Linked DNA regions of Homo sapiens: region 2 is linked to region 1. The links are contacts of gene promoters, found by promoter capture Hi-C in human tissues and cell types (Jung and others, 2019). All regions are on one chromosome and are shown on one strand. The core of a region is centred on a gene start or on the middle of the fragment in contact, and the rest is flanking DNA. Distances in the headings are between cores, read along the strand shown. Region 1 holds the start of NACA (nascent polypeptide associated complex subunit alpha). Region 2 overlaps RBMS2 (RNA binding motif single stranded interacting protein 2).

Region 1 (4,459 bases), core at 733-3,232:
TTTGAAGCTTGAATCAGATTATTCTAAATTCATCTGAATTTCAAATCTTCGTATTTGTAAAATTAAGTTGTTCAATGACACAATCTCTAAAATCTCGTTTTGTACTGAAATTACAGAATCTTTAGAGAACAGTACTTTATTTTTTCCCTTCCTTAAGCCCCTTGTACTTCAAGAATTTCATATTGTTTATACTCCAGCTTAGAGCCCCCTATTGTCCTTCCTAGCAGCTGTATTAATCCCTTCAGCTGTTAAAATCAAACAGGTGGGAAGAAACTTTATGCTTTCAACTATAAGCAACTCTACTGTAACTCCAAAAAGGGACAGGAATTGCCCTTAAATAACAAATGAAATTTAAAAAAAACCAAAAAGGTGAGAATGAAAATTACAGCCTGAAGATTTCCTTCATTTAACGCTGCACAACTGACTCAGAAAGGCTATCATTTTAAGAACTTTTCATTACCTCCTCCTAAGTTTTCTACAGAGATATGTTTTAACCAGAATTTAAAATTAGCCTTCACAGTCGTTAATTTCGACGCTGAGGATAAAAGGATTTATTTCAATCCTGGGTTTCACACAATGATGCAGGAACTATTCCAGCACACTAGAAGTATCTCAGCACCACCAACCCATAAACAAGTTATCCGACCTAGGACGACTCTGGGGCCCAGTAGGACACATTTACCACCAGCACACATCTCATCCAGACATGTGATAAAGGCACAATGCCAAGCTCTGCTAACTAAAACCTTGATGCAACTTGCTGGCTGGAGTTTCACAAATGCTCCGGGCTCCTTGGCCTGTGTCATCTAGTTCCAATAGGTAAGAATCACTGAGCCCATTCCCTGCTGAGTTTTCCTATGTGAGGTGGGGGTTCCACAGGAGAGCTTCTTTTGAGGCGACAGGCATAACATAGAAAGCAAGCTAGGGTACTTTTAACGTCCACGAATCTTAAAAATATTATTTTTACTCCAAATCCCTAAAGAAGTATCTCCAGGATAGTAATTTTACGGTCTATCCTCCTTGGTAAAGCTGCAACCCCATCCTCCTAAAAAGTGTATTTCCCCTTGGTCATTTTGCCCACCAAATGGCTTTAGGGTTAATTTTAATTAATGGCAAGGAGGGTAGGGAAACCTACCTGTCTCAGCCTGGGGCTGCGGCAACTCCTGCTCTGTAGCAGGGACGGTTTCTGTGGCTTCGCCGGGCATTTCTGAAGGAAGGGAATAAAAAGGAGGCCTAAATTGATTGGGATACATTCACTTGCCCAACCCGGAGATAAGTATTCTTAAAAACTCCGAGGAGGGCTGTTAGAAAAAAATCGTGAGGGTGTTTGGTGACAACCTTCCCCAAAGCACCTGGGAATAAGAGGTAAATATGATGTGACCCTCACGCCTCTATCAAGGCCAGCAATTCCCACTGCATTCTCAACCCGAGGGAGAGGATCCCGGGCTGGCTCTCGATCATGGGAGACTTCAGACGCTACTGTGAACCCCCTCCACTCCTAATACTCACACTGGCTGGGCTGGGGCCTCCTGGACTACGTTTGCCGACTTTGGGGTACCAGGAGGGGAAAGACGGTGTTTTAAGTCCAACACTTGCTTGTCACAGGGAGAACGGTGTTACAGGTTCTAAGGCTGTGACCCCTTACCCTTTTCTGGATCCTGTGAAGCAGTTCCCAAAACAAGACGCACTCCTCTTCCGCCCTCAACACTGCAACTGCTCCCATCTCTGCAGGCTCGGATTCTGGGCCCGCCCCGCAGCCCTTCTACCCTGCTTTTGCCAGGACACCAACCGCAGACCCCATTTTGTCCGGAGGCCCAGGGGCGAGTAGGAACCCTGTGGCCCAGTAAAGCCTCCAACTCTCCTTAACTCTCAGTCCCCGGGGCGGCTTAGCCCGAAAGAAAGGCGGATGGCTGCGGATAGACAGTAGCGGCACAGAAAGTACTTACTGTGCAGGGAACGCGGAACCAAGATGGCGGCAGAAAGACCGAGCGAGAGCGTGACCCACGCCTGTTGCAGAAGGAAGCCTGGAGCGGAGGGGGTGGGACTAGGATCCGATTCCGGGTCAAGAGCTGCCGGCAGCCACTTCCTTTGACGAGTGACTGTCAGGCCGTTCCCACGGCGGGGGTGGTGACAAGGACTAAAGGGTAAGAATTTAGAACGGGACGCGCAGGCCTAGCAGGAGCTCTCTGCGCGGACCCACGCAGTCCTCAGAACTAAGCAGACTCCGCCCTCCGGTCCGCGAAGTGGCGACTGCGGTATTAAGTCGACCTCGCGATTTCTCAAATAGTGCAGGAAGAAGACATTAAATAGCGAATGCTAGAGACTGCATTCACAACATTGGAGGGTGGAAGTGACTTAGGCTAACCAGTTATTTTTGGAACACACGATGTGAAAACATTTAAAAGCTGCTGGACCCTCTCCCCCCCCATCAACAACAACAAAAAAACCCATTTTAAAACTTGAGAGATGTGATGGGTCACATATAACTTCAGTTCAGATTATAAATTTAATTCGATTTTTCTTGTTCTGTTCAATGACTAGAGAGACTCAAACGATGTCACCAGATGACAGCAACTCATGCGTGTTAAACTCTTCGTAAAACAATGTTAGCTGTACCCCCGCCCCCCCCCCAAAAAAAACACTTCTTGTAACCAAATTCTGTAATTATGTTCCAACCTTGTATGGATAACGTAATCCAGCTAAAAACTCCTCTGTCTCCCTAAATAAATGAAATCGTAACTTCTCTACTTCTGAAGGCTGACTCCATTCTTTGGAGGTTTTCTGGTTGGTCCATCCTCACACTGCCCTTGAATAAACTCTTTAAATAGATTCCGGCCCTTTTGATTGTTTTAGGTTCACGACAATTTAGCCGATGTTGAAATTATAAAGCTGCAGATTCTCCTTCCCAGAAAAAAAGAACATAGGCACATATACAATTCCTTTGCTTGCTATTTTGGGCACTTCTTGGATTTTTTTTTTTTTTTTTTTGAGTCGCTCTGTCGGCCAGGCTAGAGTGCAGTGGCACGATCTCGGCTCACTGCAATCTCCGCCTCCAGGGCTCAAGCAGTTGTCCCGCCTCAGCCTCCCGAGTAGCTGGGATTACAGGTGTGTGCCACCACCCCCGGCTAATTTTTTATTTTTAGTAGAGACGGGTTTCACCATGTTGGCCAGGCTGGTCTTGAACTCCTGACCTCAGGTAATCCGCCTGCCTCGGCCTCCCAAACTACTGGGATTACAGGCGTGAGCCACCATGCCCAGCCTGTTTGTTTTGTTTTTGGGACAGTCTCACTTTTATTGCCCAGGCTGGGGTGCAAAGGCACGATCTCGGCTCACTGCAACCTCCCCTTCCCGGGTCAAGCGATTCTCCTGCCTCAGCCTCCCGGGTAGCTGGGATTACAGGCATGCGCCACCACGCCAGTCTATTTTTTGTATTTTTAGTAGAGACGGGCTTTCTCCATGTTGGCCAGGCTGGTCTCCTCCTGACTTCAGGTGATCCGCCTGCCTCGGCCTCCCAAAGTGCTGGGATTACAGGCGTGAACTACCGCCCCTGGCACTTCTTGGATATTCTAAGCTTATTTATTCTAGGTGTCTGGGACCCCACCTTAAACCATGCTTTGTACAACTGTATTTTTGAAAAGTAGAATGTAAAATCAGTGTTGTGTTAATGAAAAGCCTCCCATATCTTCCCACAGCCCTACAAAAGAACTCAACAAATATTTGCTGTACCTGAATTAGCTAAACCAGTCAACATTTATTTATTTTTTGAGGCGGAGTCTCGCTCTGTCGCCCAGGCTGGAGTGCAGTGGCGCGATCTCGGCTTACTGCAACCTCGGCCTCCCGGGTTCAAGCGATTCTCGTCTCAGCCTCCAGAGTAGCTGGGATTATAGGTACCCGCCTCCCCGCCCGGACTCCTGACCGTAGGTTATCCGCCTGCCTCAGCCTCCCAAAGTGCTGGGATTACAGGTGTGAGCCACTATGCCTGGCCTGATTTAATAGCTTTAAGACGACTGTGGCCACCTTTTTTTTTTTTTTTTTTTTGAGACGGAGTCTCGCTGTCACCCAGGCTGGAGTGCAGTGGCGCGATCTCAGCTTACTGCAACCTCCACCTCCCGGATTCTGGCAATTCTCCTGCCACAAAACTTCTCCTGTTTCACCGTGTTGCCCAGGCTGGTCTCGAACTCCTGAGCTCAGGCAATCCACCCGCTTCGGCCTCCCATAGTGCTAGGATTACAGGTGTGAGCCACCATACCTGGTGTGGCCGCCTTTTAAGGGAAGCAGTGAAAATTTAAAATGCTTTGAAAGCTACTTTAACATTTCTGAAATCCTTAGCGTAGTGAAATGAGGATTAGGATTGGTGAATTAAAATTAAGTGAGATAGTGGGGTTTACCAGGAATGGGAAATTCTGAAATCCTCCTCAAATAGGAGAGGCAATATTGTGGAGTCATTAAAGACAGACTC
Region 2 (4,479 bases), core at 1,830-4,329, 160 kb before region 1:
TGCAGTGAGCCGAGATCATGCCACTGCACTCCAGCCTGGGCAATAGAGTGAGATTCCATCTCAAAAAAATAAAAATAAATAAAAATCTACCTGCTACTGATATATATTATAAAGCCTTTATGTGTTTCTCTAAGGAAAGCCAGTGTGGGACTGGCCTTTAAAGCCTAATATCCAACTTTATTTCCAGCACCTCCCCCAACCTGATGGTCTTAGTGGAAAGACTGCTGTCCTTACACCTTGAATAGAGAAGTTTAATATCTCTATAGATGTTAATTAGAAGGCATGAGAGAGCTGGCAGTGGGGATGGAAGAAAGTGGGACTCGCCAATCAAATCATGCACTTTGGAGACTTTCTGCTGCTGGAGATATTCCTTGGGAATGGAGACCTCAAATTAGCAGATAAAGAAGGTGGAGATAGGAACAATTATTCTGTATCTACCCCATGAAGACCCTTCGGAGTTCTTTTTAGTAGATTTGATTCATGGAATTGCCCAATTAGGAATGTTGGAAAAATGGCAAGAGTGCACAGATGTCCAGCTCAAAAAATAATAAGCAATAAAAAATAAAGTCTGGTGTATATAAAAAACTGGTCCTTGGGCCGGGCGTGGTGGCTCACACCTGTAATCCTAGCACCTTGGGAGACCAAGGCAGAAGGATTGCTTGAGCTCAGGAGTTCAAAACCAGGCTGGGCAACATAGTGAGACCTTGTCTCTATAAAAAATATAGTAAAAATATATATTAAAAAAAATTTTAAAACTGGTCCGTTATCTCAGCTTACCTTGCTAGAAAGGTATGTAAGTGGAATTAAGGGGACTGTCTTGGACTAGTAATTTTTGAGAGGTGGGAATTAGCAGAAATGTTGGTTTTTGAGGGAGCGAAAGAGTATCATACTAATATAGGTCCTTGATTTCTAAATTTTGTTTCTTGTACTAAATATAATGTGCTACAAAAATTCTCTCACATCACAAGACAGAGAAGAATCTTTTTTTTTTAAGACTGAGTCTCAGCCTCCCAAGTAGCTGAGATTATAGGCGCACGCCACCACATCGGGCTAATTTTTGTTTTTTTTTTTGCTAGAGATGGGGTTTTACTGTGTTGTCCAGGCTGGTCTCGAACTCCTGACCAGGTGATCTGCCCACTTCGGCCGCCCAAAGTGCTGGGATTACAGGTGTGAGCCACCGTGCCTCGCTCAGAGAAGAATCTTGATTAGACTACCATATATTCGTTCCTCAGTATCTGGGGGGGATTTGTTCCAGGACCTCCTCTGTCCCCCTGCATGGATACCAAAATTCACTGAGCTCATGTCCCTACGCTTTTTTTTCTTTTTAAGACAGGATCTTGTTCTGTCACCAAGGCTGGAGTGCAGTGGTGTAATCACAACTAACTGTAGCCTCCAGGGCTCAAGCAATCCTCCCACCTCAGCCTCCTGAGTAGCTAGGACTACAGGTACACACCACCATGCTTGGCTAATTTTTTGTAAATTTTGTAGAGATGAGATTTCATCATGTTGCCCAGGCTGGTCTCAAACTTATGCGCTCAATCATTCCTCCTGCCTCGGCCTCCCCAAAAGCTGGGATTACAGGCATGAGCTACTGAGCCTGGCTTCAAGTCCCTTAGATAAAATGGTATAGTGGCCAGGCATGATGGCTCATGCCTGTAATTCCAGCACTTTGGGAGGCCAAGATGGGTGGATCACCTGAGGTCAGGAGTTGGAGACCAGCCTGGCCAACATGGTTAAACCCCGTCTGTACTAAAACTACAAAAATTAGCTGGGTGTGGTGGTGGGCACCTGTAGTCCCAGCTACTCAGGAGGCTGAGGCAGAAGAATCTCTTGAACCCAGAAAGCAGACGTTGCAGTGAGCCGAGATCACGCCACCAGAAAGCAGAGGTTGTAGTGAGCCGAGATCACGCCACTGCACCACAGCCTGGGTGACAGAGCAAGACTTCGTCTCAAAATAATAAAAATAAAATAAAATAAAATGGTGTAGTATTTGCATATAACCTATGCACATGCTCCTATATACTTTAAAATTATCTCCAGATTACTTATGATACCTCAATACAATACAAATGCCATGTAAATAAATGTTATACTGTATTGTTTAGGGAATAATGACAAGAAAAAAGTCTGTATATGTTCAGTACAGATGCAACCATCCTTTCTTTTAAAAAACATTTTAACTTTTATTTTAGGTTAAGGGGTACATGTGCAGGTTTGTTACATAGGTAAACTCGGGACTTGGGTATTTGGTGTATAGATTATTTTGTCACCTGGGTACTAAGCATAGTACCCAACAGTTATTTTTTTAGTTTTTTTTCCCTGAACCTCTCTTAGAAGAAAGACTTTTTTTTTTTTCCTATATATTTTCAATCCATGGCTGGTTCAATCCACAAGTGGGAAACCCACAGATACAGAGGGATTTTTATTTTGCCTTTCTGAACAATTGCCTTATCTTTTGCTGTGTCTGAAGCATAAGTATAGTCAAGGGCAGCATGTAGGATCGAAGTAAGGAGCCCAAAAGGGGACTGTGGAGAGGCAGGAGTGAGGCAGGAATGAAAGAGGTGCCAGAGGAGTCCTGACTAGGAGGCTGAGCAGAGCAGGTGGGTGGAGCCCTCTGTCCGCTGTGAGCAGGGAGTTAAGCCTTTCTAGGAAGGATGTTTCTCATGCGTAGACGGACTTCCTGCCTTTGTCCCAGTTGTCTCTCCCTGGGTTGTAGAGGAAGTAAATATTGCTGGATCCTAAAGTCTGGCATGTGGGAAGGAGAGGCGTGGAGTCTAGGACTGGAACTCCTGTTTCTCGGAGGGGCTCCTTCAAGGAAGCAGCAGCAGTGACCCAGCTGTTGCCAGCTGCAGTGGAAATTCTGAGCTCAAAGTCTCAGCTGCTAGACCACAGCAAGCTCCACCCTGGGGCCTTCATAAGGATAGCAGCACTTGTGTCCTCTGCCCCACAGTCAGACTTCTCATGAGTCCCTCCCCTGCCTCAATTTGGGAATGAATCCAAGTGTGTAGCCTGGAAGGGCTAGGATAGCCACATCCATCCTCACCCTCCTTTTAATGTGTTCTGTTCCCAGCTTTCAGGGCATTGCTTGGCTTATTCTGTCTAATCCTTTGGATCACAGAAGTTCTACTAAAAAAGTCAGTGAGATGCCGCCAAGGAGTGAAAACAAATCAATCATCATATGTTCTTTAGGGATGGAAGGAGAGATGGGAAAATTGCTTGTTTGGGGTATTATTCTCAAATTCATTCCCTGACAACTATTTTCAGTTAGCTCTTGTACTTCTGACTTTGTTAGTGATTTCTGTTCTGTCTCTTTAATATTTTCACCCTCCTGGAGTGGAATGTAGAGGCTTTTTTCTAGTGGAACGCTTCTAATATAATCCCTGATCTGTGATACACTACTACTCAAGTTTTAGAAGTTCCACATGACTCTGCTACCAAAGTATAATTTTCAAAAAGTTGAAAAACACAACTGTTAGGCTGGGCACAGTGCCTCACACCTGTAATCACAGCACTTTGGGAGGCTGAGGCAGGTGGATCACTTGAAGTCAGGAGTTCGAGACCAGCCTGACCAACATGGTGAAACACCATCTCTACTAAAAAATACCAAATTAGCTGGGTGTGGTGGCGCATGCCTGTAATCCCAGCTACTCCAGAGGCTGAGGCAGGAGAATCGCTTGAACCCGGGAGGCGGAGGTTGCAGCGAGCCGAGATCACGCCACTGCACTCCAGCCTGGGCAACAAGAGTGAAACTCTGTTTCAGAAAACAAAAAGAAAACACAACTGTCATGCAAATATAAAATGAATATGTGTCAAAGATTTTTATAACTCATTAATGAGGGAACCAGCAGGATGGCAAAATGAGTTCAAAGAGCATTTGAGGAACTATTTATAGGAAATGAAGAAAGAATGTTGGAATAAGATTGCTACATTAGATAAAAACTGGTTTATGTCCTATAGGATAGTAAAGCCACTAACCTTTGCAATTATTTTATCTACTGCACAGAAATAATTTGCATTTTTACTGGACAAAAATCTATAACTTGGCCAAGTGTGGTGGCTCATGCCTGTAATCCCAGCACTTTGGGAGGCTGAGGCGGGTGGATCACCTGAGGTCAGGAGTTTGAGACCAGCCTGGCCAACATGGTGAAACCTCGTCTCTAGTAAAAATGTAAAACTTAGCTGGGTGTGGTGGCAGGCGCCTGTAATCCCAGCTACTCGGGAGGCTGAGGCAGGAGAATCGCTTGAACCTGGGAGGCGGAGGGTGCAGTGAGCTGAGATCACACCATTGCACTCCAGCCTGGGCAACAACAGCAAAACTCCATCTCAAAAAAAAAAAAAGAAGAGGAAGGAGAAGGAGGAGAAGAGGAAGAGGAAGGAGAGGAAGAAGAAGAAGAAAGAAGAAGAAGGAAGAAGAAGAAGAAGAAAGGATATGCAGCCCTTTGGCCTTATCACCAAAATTTAGATGGTTTTTTGTTTATA

Evidence for each region. The method cuts DNA at HindIII sites, captures the fragments that hold promoters and counts their contacts. A contact is called where the count stands out against the background at its distance.
Region 2: a fragment that was not itself captured here is called in contact with the fragment with the promoter of NACA in region 1 in 1 of the 25 tissues and cell types used here (aorta).

What each region holds. Positions count from the first base shown.
Region 1 is chr12:56,723,317-56,727,775 of GRCh38, forward strand. NACA (nascent polypeptide associated complex subunit alpha) reads right to left here and starts at 1,983. Exons shown (of 9, transcript NM_001365896.1): 1 at 1,947-1,983; 2 at 1,136-1,207. The coding sequence starts at 1,205. RefSeq lists enhancers at 610-729, 1,789-1,838, 1,929-2,058. The HindIII fragment of the contact is 10,398 bases long and covers 1,790-4,459 here.
Region 2 is chr12:56,563,061-56,567,539 of GRCh38, forward strand. The region is part of intron 2 of RBMS2 (RNA binding motif single stranded interacting protein 2); the gene reads left to right. Among named protein-coding and RNA genes, the nearest start is that of RBMS2, 43 kb to the left of the region's middle. RefSeq lists enhancers at 2,283-2,821, 2,822-3,359 and a silencer at 2,943-2,992. The HindIII fragment of the contact is 6,603 bases long and covers 1-4,479 here.